Linked DNA regions of Homo sapiens: all the other regions are linked to region 3. Evidence: promoter capture Hi-C in 16 types of primary human blood cells and fetal thymus (Javierre and others, 2016). All regions are on one chromosome and are shown on one strand. The core of a region is centred on a gene start or on the middle of the fragment in contact, and the rest is flanking DNA. Distances in the headings are between cores, read along the strand shown.

What was found. Contacts are between HindIII fragments. The CHiCAGO score rates a contact against its expected background, and 5 or more counts as called.
Region 1: a contact is called between a fragment that was not itself captured here and the fragment with the promoter of TAL2 in region 3, in 1 of 17 cell types (total B cells). The highest score is 8.1, in total B cells.
Region 2: a contact is called between a fragment that was not itself captured here and the fragment with the promoter of TAL2 in region 3, in 1 of 17 cell types (total B cells). The highest score is 5.3, in total B cells.

Annotation. Positions count from the first base shown.
Region 1 is chr9:104,858,085-104,862,628 of GRCh38, reverse strand. ABCA1 (ATP binding cassette subfamily A member 1) reads left to right here. Exons shown (of 50, transcript NM_005502.4): 6 at 829-950; 7 at 3,931-4,107. Among named protein-coding and RNA genes, the nearest start is that of ABCA1, 68 kb to the left of the region's middle. The HindIII fragment of the contact is 1,308 bases long and covers 839-2,146 here.
Region 2 is chr9:104,759,377-104,763,896 of GRCh38, reverse strand. It overlaps NIPSNAP3A (nipsnap homolog 3A), which reads right to left. Exons shown (of 6, transcript NM_015469.3): 6 at 3,777-4,520. Among named protein-coding and RNA genes, the nearest start is that of NIPSNAP3B, 2.5 kb to the left of the region's middle. RefSeq lists a silencer at 1-39. The HindIII fragment of the contact is 717 bases long and covers 1,294-2,010 here.
Region 3 is chr9:105,659,418-105,663,822 of GRCh38, reverse strand. TAL2 (TAL bHLH transcription factor 2) reads right to left here and starts at 1,366. Exons shown (of 1, transcript NM_005421.3): 1 at 699-1,366. The coding sequence starts at 1,326. The coding sequence ends at 1,000. RefSeq lists an enhancer at 1,250-1,339. The HindIII fragment of the contact is 4,889 bases long and covers 1-4,324 here.

The DNA.
Region 1 (4,544 bases), core at 243-2,742, 800 kb after region 3:
CTGCATTTTAACAAGCTCTCCAGGTGATTCTGATGCATACTTAAGTTTGAGAACCATTGCTTGTTTTGCATTAAACAGGAGATTAGTCTCTGCAGCTTGTGGGAATAAAGCTTTAAATCTCTCCAATTTTAGCTCTGTGAAAAGGCAGTGGGGAGACAGGAATGAACGGACTAGTGCCACAAAGCTCAGGTGGGGTGGGTGAGATCATTTAGAAGAGAAAGACCGGGCATGGTGGCTCACGCCTGTACTGTCAGCACTTTGGGAGGCCAAGGCAGGTTGGATCACAAGGTCAGGAGTTTGAGACCAGCCTGCCTATCATGGTGAAACCCTGTCTGTACTAAAGATAAAAAAAAAAAAATTTGCCAGTCATGGTGATGCATACCTGTAATCCCAGCTACTCGGGAGGCTGAGGCAGGAGAATCTCTTGAACCCGGGAGGCGGGGGTTGCAGTGAGCTGAGATTCCACCATTGCACTCCAACCTAGGTGACAGGGTGAGACTCCGTCTCAAAATAAAAAAAAAAAAAGAAAAGGAAAGGCTGTGTGTGTGTGTATGTGTGTGTGTGTGTGTGTGTGTGTGTAACAGCACCATCACACTGTTTGAGTTGAGGAGCACATGCTGAGTGTGGCTCAACATGTTACCAGAAAGCAATATTTTCATGCCTCTCCTGATATGGCGATGCTCCCCTATCTCATTCCTGTGTGTGTTTAGCCAGGCAACTGTTGATCATCAATATTATGATAACGTTTCTCCACTGTCCCATTGTGCCCACTTTTTTTTTTTTTTTGAGTTACTTACTAAATAAAAATAAAACACTATTTCTCAATAGACTTGAAGCTTCAAGATTTCCTGGTGGACAATGAAACCTTCTCTGGGTTCCTGTATCACAACCTCTCTCTCCCAAAGTCTACTGTGGACAAGATGCTGAGGGCTGATGTCATTCTCCACAAGGTAAGCTGATGCCTCCAGCTTCCTCAGTAGGGCTGATGGCAATTACGTTGTGCAGCTACTGGAAAGAAATGAATAAACCCTTGTCCTTGTAATGGTGGTGAAGGGGAGGGAGGTAGTTTGAATACAACTTCACTTAATTTTACTTCCCTATTCAGGCAGGAATTGCCAAACCATCCAGGAGTGGAATATGCAACCTGGCGTCATGGGCCAGCTGGTTAAAATAAAATTGATTTCTGGCTTATCACTTGGCATTTGTGATGATTTCCTCCTACAAGGGATACATTTTAAGTTGAGTTAAACTTAAAAAATATTCACAGTTCTGAGGCAATAACCGTGGTTAAGGGTTATTGATCTGGAGGAGCTCTGTCTAAAAAATTGAGGACAGGAGACTTTAGACAAGGGTGTATTTGGAGACTTTTAAGAATTTTATAAAATAAGGGCTGGACGCAGTGGCACTGAGTTGAGAACTGTTGCTTGCTTTGCATTAAATAGGAGATCAGTCCCTGCAGCTTGTGGGAATAAGGCTTTAAATCTCTCCAATTTTAGCTCTGTGAGATGGCACTGGGGAAACAGAAATGAACGGACTAGTGTCACAAAGCTCAGGTGGGATGGACGAGATCACTTCAAAGGTCTGTAATCCCACGTCTATAATCCCAGCACTTTGGGAGGCCAAGGCGGGAAAATCACTTGAGGTCAGGAGTTCGAGACCATCCTGGCCAACATGGCAAAGCCTGTCTCTACTAAAAATATGAAAATTAGCTCAGCGTGGTGGCATGCTCCTGTAGTCCCAGCTACTCGTGAGGCTGAGACAGGAGAATCGTTTGAACCTGGGAGGCGGAGGTTGCAGTGAGCCAATATCACGCCATTGCACTCCAGCCTGGCTGACAGAGTGAGACTCCATCTCAAAAAAAAAAAAAAAAAAAGAATTTTATAAAATCAGGAAATAATATTAGTGTTTATGTTGAATTTTAACTTTAGAATCATAGAAAACTTCCTCTGGCATCATTATTAGACAGCTCTTGTGCAGTGGGTAGCACCAGACCCAGCTTGCATGGTTATTGATTTTTCAGAGACACTTTTTGAGCTTATTCTCTGGCAGAAAGGGGAACTGCTTCCTCCCCTATCTCGTGTCTGCATACTAGCTTGTCTTTACAAGAAGCAGAAGTAGTGGAAATGTTTATTCTTGAAAATAAGCTTTTTGCTTCACATGATCTAGAATTTTTAAAATTAGAAAAATGTGCTTACTGCGTGCCCTTCTGAAACTAGGAAAATATGCCTTGTGTTTACCAATTGTGTGGTTAGGAGATGGGCCAAAGGCATCAGGCTTTTGAAAGTAGTTGCATTTAGCATAATTTCCATTGCCCCCTGCCAATTTCATATCTGTCACATCTAATCAGTTTAAAATAAGGGGCATCCTAAGCATGGAGATGGTCCTTGGATGGTCCTTGGAGTTTCTGTATTTTCAGTATTCTTTTTTTTGAGCATACAAGACATTTATTGAAAAATTCTTGGGATCAATACTTGTGTAAGGAAAGGAAAGGGAACAAAGCATGATTGGGCAGAGGCAGAAGATGACATCAACAAAGGCCCTCCGTTGTCAGTATTCTTTTTTTTTTTTTTTTTTTGAGTTGGAGTCTCGCTCTGTCACCCAGGCTGGAGTGCAGTGGCGTGATCTCAGCTCACTACAACCTCTGCCTCCCAGGTTCAAGTGATTCTCTGCTTCAGCCTCCTGAGTAGCTGGGATTACAGGCATGCACCACCACACCTGGCTAATTGTTGTATTTTTAGTAGAGACGGGGTTTCACCATGTTGGTTGGCCAGACTGGTCTTGAACTCCTGACCTCAGGTGATCCGTCTGCCTTGGCCTCCCAAAGTGTTGGAATTACAGACATGACCCACTGCACCCGGCCTGTTGTCAGTATTCTTAAACATAGACACTAACTGTAGGCTGACAGCCTAGCAGCAAGGACCAGTTAAAGAAATGAGTAGAACTGAAGTGTGCTTGAGTATCTCTGGCAGTCAGCAAAAACTTAATGGGAATCATGGTAGGCCAAATGTTCTGCAGTATTTCAAAAGCTGCATGGGTTTTGAGAGGCTTTTGGTCCATCACTCACCTTAGGTTGTTCTACAAGCACATCAGCCTGCCCCAATTTAAACAGGGCAGTTAGTAATGGTGTAATAAAGAGTCTGCATTGTTCATTCCTTCAACAAATACTGGCTATAATGTTTCAGCACTGTGGATGCAAAGTGAGCAGGATAAACAGGCTCTTCTTTCAAAGCTTGTGGTCCACTGGACCACGTATGAAGTAGAATAGTTTAGGTCCAGAAAGGCAATTAAGTAAAATATGACCAAGAAGAGGCTCTCTAGTGGGTTTGGTATAAAGAAAAGATAAGAATGATTTAGAATTGGCCTATCAATGAGATAAGAGGCCTGGCTTTCTGGCACTCTGCTCTAGGGCAAGTAAAATGGAGAATTCCAAATTCTGAAATTGTTAGAACATAGTTCTGTGTCTTAGTTAAATATCTACACTTACAGATAAATAGCATAAATGCTTTCTCCCCATATTTCAGCCCAGTCCTACTTAAAGACAACATAAATTGCAAAATAGTGAGGATGTTGTTCATCTAATAAAAGTGGTTCCAGGAATTCAGACTCTGGATTCCTGTTTGCCAAATCATGTGTCCCACTCTTAAGAAAACGAGTTGGACTCTGGATTTTTCTTTGCAAGAGGGACAAGAGTGTGGGAGATACTGAGTTAATGCAACTTGCAGGTTTTAAGTGTCCTGTCATTGTGCCTTGTGCTTTGATACATTCTGAGTTTCAGTAAAGAGACCTGATGCATTGGACTGTTGCAATGGAACCTGTTTTAAGATCTTCAAAGCTGTATTGATATGAAGTTCTCCAAAAGACTTCAAGGACCCAGCTTCCAATCTTCATAATCCTCTTGTGCTTGTCTCTCTTTGCATGAAATGCTTCCAGGTATTTTTGCAAGGCTACCAGTTACATTTGACAAGTCTGTGCAATGGATCAAAATCAGAAGAGATGATTCAACTTGGTGACCAAGAAGTTTCTGAGCTTTGTGGCCTACCAAGGGAGAAACTGGCTGCAGCAGAGCGAGTACTTCGTTCCAACATGGACATCCTGAAGCCAATCCTGGTGAGTAGACTTGCTCACTGGAGAAACTTCAAGCACTAATGCTTTCGGAATGTGAGGCTTTTCCTTGGACAGCATGACTTTGTTTTGTAGAAAAGTACGGCTGGCTGGGAGTTTGTGATATAATTTAGTTCAGTGGTATTCTAAGTGTTCTTAGTGTTCTTTCAGACTTTTGGGCCATCTCCCAAAGGGTGAATGGGAAGAATAAGCTGGGTGTGGCTGAGTTTAAGCCAAAAGTTTTTTGTGCTTGTTTCAATCAGAGAAGACCTGCTTTTTCATGTTTTTACTATTATAATACTAAGCAAGAGCTCATTTGAAAACAGAGTTCTTCATATTTAAAAAAAAAAAGTCTTGAAACCATTGATGGGAAGATGGATATCTATTTATGTTTAAAAACCCATCATAAAGATGACATTGTGGGCTGTCACAGTTGGAAGGCC
Region 2 (4,520 bases), core at 403-2,902, 900 kb after region 3:
CGGCGGTTGTGCTTGTGTTGCCCCTGGAGAAGGAAGGGGAGGTGTTCAGCGTGTGCATGTGCAGTGCTTTGCATTTAAAGTCGAGATGTTGACAGGGTTAACTTGTTTCTTTGTTTGAGACGTAGTCTTGCTCTGTCGCCCAGGCTGGAGTGCACTGGCGCGATGTCGCCTCACTGCAAGCTCCGCCTCCCGGGTTCACGCCATTCTCCTGCTTCAGCCTCCCCAGTAGCTGGGACTACAGGCGCCCGCCACCACGCCCCGCTAATTTTTGTATTTTTTAGTAGAGACGGAGTTTCACCATATTGGCCAGGCTGGGACAGGGTTAACTTTTACAGGTTGTGATAGACGTGTATTTGTAGACCAGTGAGCCTTCGCTTTTCTGCATTATCTGTCCCCATTGCCACCCCACTGTGATCTTGGAAGGCTCCTAATAAAGATTTAATTTTCCATGAGCTCAGTGGAATAGCAGCACCGAGCCTGATAGGAAAAAGTCGAAGTTAAACATAGATAGTTTGAAACTAGATCGTTCTGTAAGCCTTAAGAGCAAAACAGCCGACCTCTGGTCTAGTCCTCCCAGTCCCAGAGTACTGGTCCCCAGACTAACCACCTTCAACATTTTAAGCTGTTCTTCTAATACCTGTTTCCGTATGTTTTTTATTTTTTTGAGACAGAGTCTTGCTCTGTCGCTCAGGCTGGGGTGCAGTGGCATGATCTTGGCTCACTGCAACCTCCGCCTCCCGGTTTCAAGAGATTCTCCTGCCTCAGCCTCCTGAGTAGCTGGAATTACAGGCGCACGCCACGACACCTGGCTAATTTTTCTATTTTTAGTAGAGACGGCGTTTCACCATGTTGGGCAGGCTGGTCTTGAACTCCTGACCTCAGGTGATCCTCTCGGCTCAGCCTCCCTAAGTGCTGGGATTACAGGCACGAGCCACTGCGCCTGGCCCGTATTTTTAAATAATAGTCATTTTCTGCTATTTCTTGCATTTTCAGTTATGGAGAGTATGTGTTGCCTTCCTTCTGTGGCAGATGAGGATTTAGGTCTCACAGAAGCCACTCCCCCGGGGGCTTATCATTTGTGTTGAGAACATTCAATATCCTCCTAGCAATTTGAAACTATATATTATTAACTATAGTTATCCTGAAGTGGTATAGAGCACTAGAACTTATTCCTCCTATCTAGCTATAATTTTGTTTAACAAATCTCTCCCATCCTTGTCTTCCTCCTAATCTTTCCCATCCTCTAGAATCCTGTTATACTTTTTATTTCTGAAATCAACTTTTTTTAAAGCTTATACATTAATGAGAACATGTGGTGTGCAACTTTCTCTTGTTGGCATATTTCACTTAACATAATATCCACCAGTTCCAGCCATGTTGCTGTGAAGGACAGGATTTCATTCCTTTTTACTGCTGAATAGTATTCCATTGTGTATATATAACATACTTTCTTTATCCATTAATCTTGCTGGACACCTAGGCTGATTCTGTATCTTGGCTATTGTGAACAGTGCTGCAATAAACATGGGGGAGGGAAGATGTCTTTCTGATATACTGATTTCTTTTCCTTTGGATAATGCTCAGTAGTGGGTTATTTGTAGTTTCTTGAGGAAACTCCATAGTGTTCTCCATAGTAGTTCTAAGAGTTTACATTCCCAACAGTGTATACGATTTTCCTTTTCTCTGCATCCTCATCAGCTTTGTTTTTTGACTTTTTGATAATAGCCTAACTGGGGTGAGATAATACCTCACTTCCCTGATGATGAGTGATGTTGAACATTTTTCATGTATTTGTGAGCTATTTGTATGTCTCCTTTGGAGAAATGTCTGTTCAGATCATTTGCCCATTCTTAAATTGATTTGTTTGGTTTTTATTGCTGGTGAGATGTTTGAGTTTCTTGTATATTCTGGATATGAATCCCTGTCAGATGAATAGTTTGCAATTATTTTTTCCCATTCTATAGGTGGTTTTTTCACTCTGTTGATTTTTTCATTTGCTGTGCAGAAGCTTTTTAGTTTGACATAATCTATTTTTGCTTTTGTTGTCTGTGCTTTTGAAATCTTATTCATAAAACTTTTTCCCAGACAATGTCCGGAAGCATTTCCCTTATATTTTCTTCTAGTACTTTTAGTTTCAGGTCTTACACTTAGCTCTTTGACCCATTGAACTGAATTTTTGTATAGAGTGAGAGGTGGGGGTCTAGTTTCACTCTTCTGCATATTGATATCCAGTTTTCCTGGCACTATTTATTGAAGAGACTGTCTTTTCCCCAGTGTATGTTCTTGGCACCTTTGTCAAAAACCAGTTGGCTGTAGATGTATGGATTAATTTCTGGGTTATATATTCTGTTCCATTGGTCTGTTTCTGTTTCTATCCCAGTACCATGTTGTTTTGGTTACTATAGCTTATAGTATATTTTGAAGGCTGGTAGTGTGATGCCTCTAGCTTTGTTCTTTTTGCTTAGGACTGCTAAAAGCAAATTCTTGATAAAGAAATAGACCTATTCTTTATAAGATATTAAATAACAATATCTAATGGTAGGTGTAAGAGGTATAATAATTTTGAAGTAGTGATGAAGGTAAAATAAATTTTCTGTATTTGCAACAACTATAAATAGAATTTGACAGTATCTGTGATTTTTACTGACTAAAAAGTTGCAGGTCCTGCTAATAATATTGTGGTTTGTTGCCTACCTTCACAAACAAAGGAAATGCTTAGAAGTTGGTGCCAATAAAGATGGAACTTTTACCTATCCAAGTTATCAGACTCTGAATTCTATCCTTCAGGATTTGTGTACTAGAGGTTACAAACCACTACTCTAGAGTATATAATTAGGAATGGAATTGCTGGGTCATAAGTTATGTATATATTCATCTTTATTAAATCGTGCCAAACTGTTCTATAAATGTATATTCTTAATAGCAGTGTATGAGGTTTTCCTGACCAATTTCTTATTATTGCCCATCTGATCTGATGAGTGTGAAGATGCATTTTTACACCTCTCATAACAAATAAGTATTAGCTGAAGGATGGTGGGAATTACAAGAAGTGGGCAAAGGGAACAATCTACTTGATGATGTTCTTGCATGTTTTTTTTTTTTTTTAAAGGTCAGGCTCATGCAAAAGCAGGAGAGGTGTATCCAGTGCTGGCCCAACTGGGTAGGAGGACAGCAGTTGTACATGTAAACTCTAGATGCTTAAATTTCCTGAGTGAAAACTTTCCAAATAAACATTGAGATGGAAGACTCTTAGACAAAACTCAGAGCCAATGCCTCTAACTTCCGTGATAAGTTTTTACCTCCAGTGTTGGGTCTTCTTTGCCTTAGTAGGAAACTCATCTGTCCTTTGAATCCCTGGGAGCTAGATAAATGAGGGGTTACTATACTTTCTGCTTTTCCAATTTCCCTCAGATGGCTAATTCATAATTTACTATCTTTGCTATATGTAATAGCAGTGTAAAATAAAAATATAAAATAACATAGAAATGTAAAAATAACATAGCTGTAAATATAGATTTCATAGTCTTGGAAGTACCAAATCTACTTTAATAGGAAGCACTCAATTAAAAATTAAAGTTGTTTGTAGGAAAACACTACCACATCTGTGACAGTACTAAAGAAACTCTGATTCTGGGGTTAGTGGGATACAATTTTCTTGAGGTAACTTAATATTTACAGTAAAGACGGTAAATTGGTATTGTCTCATTACCTTATAGCAATACAGCAATAGCTTCAGAAAAGATAAATATATAAAACTCAACAAAAAGAACCAGAAGGTATATGTAGGCTTTTATTAGGGCAAGCATTTCCATATCCATACAGATTTCATTAAAACAAATGGATGTCTCAAGTATCTTTGTTAAACAGGATCCGAAATGAAGTAAATAGTAGTTAAAATTAATTATAAATAAAGACATTTCAGCACATAAACCAACAAGTCTTTTCTAGATTTTTAATACCAGGACCTAACAGCATCATTTTCCAAGTAAGTGACAAATAACTAATGTGAAAACCATATTTAATATAGATGATGTCACAAATGACAATGTGGTTTTCCATAGTAAAGAAATACGTTAATTTTCTTAAATCCTATTTGGTATTACAAAATAAATTTTACTGGTCAAAAAACAACCAAAAAAAACCAGGAAAACAGACATGATGGAAAGGTTGATAAAATATATTAATAACTTAAAAATGCTGTCACAAGCATGGAAATGCTACCATTATCATTTGAATACAACAAAATGCTATAAAGCAAAGAGTTGTCAGAATACAGTAGAAGAGCTATTCTGAAACAAATGAAGAGTCAAGATCTTAAAACAGTGACAAGTATTTTTAATGTATGACAGACACTGAAATACCATGCAGAAAGTAAACAGAACTATTTTTTGAAGTGGTACTTACAAAGCACAGATGTAGCCTTCATAATGCAAGAAACATAGCAAATTAACTTAACACCTCCTTCAAATAAAAGTGAGAACCTCTTGGGAGAATTTAAGCACCATTAGCAGACAGATCCT
Region 3 (4,405 bases), core at 117-2,616:
GTAATCCCCACACCTTAGTGGGCGGGGGGCGGGGGGTGTCTTTTCTCCACAGATTTTTCCCGCAAGTCTCCCAGGTTGGTTTCTGCAGGGGTTATCTTTCTATTCATCAATCTTAAGATTTATTTTGTTCACCTTTGATCAAATGCATCTCATTTTTCAAAACCATCTTTAAAATCTGTTCTGAGGGAAGCATATGCTGCTACTCATTCATCTGAGATCCATTATGAGAAAACTTTTTTTGTTATTGTTGTTTTTGAGAGCGAGTCTTGCTCCGTTGCCCAGGCTGGAGTGCAGTGGCATGATCTTGGGTCACTGCAACCTCCCCCTCCCGGGTTCAAGCGATTCTCGTGCCTCAGCCTCCTGAGTATCTGGGATTACAGGTGCGCACTACCACACCTGGCTCATTTTTGTATTTGTAGTAGAGACGGAGTTTCACCATGTTGGCCAGGCTGGTCTCAAACTCCTGACCTCAGGTGATCTGCCCATCTCAGCCTCCCAAAGTGCTGGGATTACAGGCGTGAGCCACCGTGCCCGGCCCATCAATCTTAAGATTTATTTTGTTCACCCTTGATCAAATCTCATTTTTCAAAACAAACTTTAAAATATGTTCTGAAGGAAGCATATTCTACTTATTCATCTGAGATCCATTATGAGAAAACTTCTTTCTTATAACTGAAGACATTGAGTATAAACAGTGATTTTCAGCCTTTTTTTTTTTTTATTTAGAATTTTTTCTCCAAAAGTCTTATGCAGAACCTGGATTTAAAATAGGCAGAGGTAGGCCGCTCTACCTGACATCCCTGGGGGGTGGCGGCCCACAAGTGACATTCCTCATGGCTTCTTTCAGCTCCCTGCAGCTGTCTCTGAGCCACCTCCCAGGAAGCTAGAATTCATGCTTCACGAGTTATCATCAGGTCAACTCTGGAACATGCAAAAGTCTGTCCACAGGCAGTGATTTCTGGGCAAGTGCTGCCCTGGGAGATGACAGCCAGAGCCACACTAAGGAATGTGGTGGCTTGGACCAGGTGAAGGAACCTGGTAGTTCTCAAGCAGAGTTCTGTCCTCCAGGCCTGGCAGGTGGGGTCCTTGAGGGAAGAGCCCCAGAATGTTCCCCTGAGCAGCCACTCCCGTTTGTTGCAGGCTTTGCTCCCCCAAGACCTTGACCAAGAAGTTGATATACCTCATTGCCAGGCGAAGCGTTTCATTTTTGCTCAGCTTTTTGTCTGGAGGGTGAGTGGGGATGAGCTTCCTCAGCTTGGCAAAGGCGCTGTTGACATTCTGCTGCCTCCACCGCTCCCTGGTATTTGTGAAGATCTTCCTGGTCATGTTTGAGTTCCTGAGATGGAAAGAGAAAGGGCCCTCAGGGCCAATATCTTATAAGAGGCCTGATTGGTATCACATGTCCTGCCAAGAACCTGAGATGTTAGATTTTCTCGACTCAGAGCTTACGAGATTCATTTCCTCATTTTCAGGTTTTTAAAAAAGAAAACAACCCCACAGGGACACAAACATATGCCTCTCACCTTTCGAGGCATCAGTGACGCTATGAATTATGCATAATTTCTTTTTTTAACTTAAAAACAACAGGGGAAGGTAAGAACAACACCCTTCAGCTTTTTCTCTCTGGCTGTTTTGAAGCCTCCAGTTGAAAGATTGCTTTGTCCCAATACTCCTGTTTCTTCCTTTATAACCAACTCTTCCTAATTGTTCAGAATCAGGTACAATATTGATTGAGTTTATGTATAAATGCAACATATGTTTGGCCAATAGAAAGTTTGTTTTTTGTTTTTTGTTTTTTTCTTTTTTTGAGATGGAGTCTCACTCTGTCACCCAGACTGGAGTGCCATGGCACCATCTCAGCTCACTGCAACCTCCAGCTCCCGGGTTTGAGCGATTCTCCTGCCTCAGTCTCCGGAGTAGCTGGGACTATAGGCGCCTGCCACCACGCCTGGCTAGTTTTTATATTTTTAGTAGAGATGGGGTTTCACCATGTTGGCCAGCCTGGTCTTAAACTCCTGATCTCAGGTGATCCACCCGCCTCGGCCTCCCAAAGTGCTGGGATTGCAAGCGTGAGTCACGATGCCCGGCCACCAACAGAGAGTTGAATATGAATCAACAATGTATTATCAGAATGAAGTAAAAAAAGAAAATGATTGTAGGTTTCGTTAATAAAATAAAATTTGGAATAGAGAAGACAATACAGCTCTCTTGTTAGCTGGCAGACCTCACCTGGAGGATTCAGCCCCTCTCTGTAAGAACTAAAATATCCAGACTGGACTATATTTAGAGGAGCAGGAACAGAATGATGAAGGGTCTTGAAACCCTGGTGTATGAAGAACAGAAGTGGGGGTATTTAGTCTCGCAAAAATGAAAAGACAAGGGGCAGGTGGGAGTGGTGATTTGGCGTGGATTCTGTAGAAGATACTTGGGCCTCTTTGGGGCTGCATTGGATGACCTTTCCAAGTCTAGGAGAGTGGTTTATCATCACATACTGCCGAGCATTATGCAGGCATTTTTCACTCTTAGAGGCAAGAGTCCCTTTTTTCAAGTGGCTTGGATTAACATGTGCTAATAGGAACACTTGGGAGGCACTGGCAAACAAGCCCAAGTCTAGCCCCAGGCAGTTTGATGTTCTTGGCTTACTGCTATTGGTCTGCTGCCTGCTCCACGCTCAGCTCCTCTGGGCACTGGGCCCTTTCTAGTTCCTCCGAAGACTCATGAATATTCCCAACTCTACACTTTCGCACATTGTCATTTTCTGTTCCTTGAATTTCCTCCCCACTCTCTACTTACCTATTTCTTTAAACAGCAGGTGAGATCTTCCCTTTCCAAGCCCTGACTCTACAGGAGTCTTCACGTAACTCAGCCATCAGTGGAACCATATGCATGGTGGTCAAGAGCACAGGCTCCAAGGCCAGAACCCCGGTTTGGCTGTTGGTTATACTCACCCTAGCTGTGTGACGAGCAATCTACTTAACCTCTCTGTGTTTCAAATGCCTCATAAGTAAAGATCAGTACAGGAGTACTGCATCATTGTGAGGACACATGAAATGATACACATAAAGCACCTTAGCTCAGTGTCTAGTGCATATTAAAGGCTCAATAAATATTTAATGATTGGCGGGACTCAGTGGCTCACACCCGTAATCCCAGCGCTTTGGGAGGCCAAGTCGGGGGGGGGGGGGGTGGCAGATCACCTGAGGTCAGGAGTTCACGACCAGCCTGGCCAACACGGTGAAATTCCATCTCTACTAAAAATGCAAAAATTAGCAGGGCGTGGTGGCGCACGCCTGTAGTCAGAGCCAATCAGGAGGTTGAGACAGAAGAATCACTTGAACCCAGGAGGTGGAGGTTGCAGTGAGTCGAGATCGCGTCATTGCACTCCAGCCTGGGCGACAGAGCGAGACTGTCTCAAAAAAAAAAAGAAAATTAATGATTGCAATTATTATCTTTAAAAATAAAACAGTGAAAAATAAATGTTGTAATTTATCATTTTCTTCCTAATGAAGAAGTTATATGCATTAGAGAAGGTCTTAGCTTTGTTTATGTGCTCTTTTGATTCACTTTACAGGAATATATGGGTGTGTGTGTGTGTGTGTGTGTGTGTGTGTGTGTGTGTGTGTGTGTAGAGCAAAAACCTGGAAGGATTCAGGCCAAACTGTCAACAGTGGTTCATTGGGAGAGGACAGTAGATTGGGAGAAGAGAAAAAAAGGAGACTTGTGGTGTTTTATTCTTTTTTTGGTATTGTTTTATGTGTACATATATAAAATCTTTTTTTTTTTTTTTTTTGAGACAGAGTTTCGCTCTGTCGCCAGGCTGGAGTGCAGTGGCACGATCTCAGCTCGCTGCAACCTCTGCCTCCTGGGTTCAAGTGATTCTCCTGCCTCAGCCTCCCTAGTAGCTGGGACTATAGGCACACGCCACTGGGCCCAGCTAATTTTTTTGTATTTTTAGTAGAGAAGGGTTTTCACCATGTTGGCCAGGATGGTTTCAATCTCCTGACCTCATGATCTGCCCGCCTCAGTCTCCCAAAGGGCTGGGATTACAGGCGAACCACTGCACCAACTGCATTTTTCAATCATCTCTATGCCCCCCGGGACATTTCCCCATCCTAGTTCCTTTCTTGTTGCCTTTCCTGCTTGTGTCTGGGTTGGGGAGTCCAGTGCTGTGCTAAGAATTCATGGTGAACTGGAAGCACCGCAGCCCGAGGTCACCACATGGCTTCCGGCTCCCCGCACTGTCCTCTTGCACCCACATCCTCTCTCCGTGGAGACATTCCTAGTTGGACCCATGGACCAATTACAATACTATGCACTCCAAGCTTTGGGACCAACATTTACTGACACTACGAGCCAGGTATTGTGCTTGCTGCTGAGTGTTGAGGAGCTGGCTGATTGTATTAAC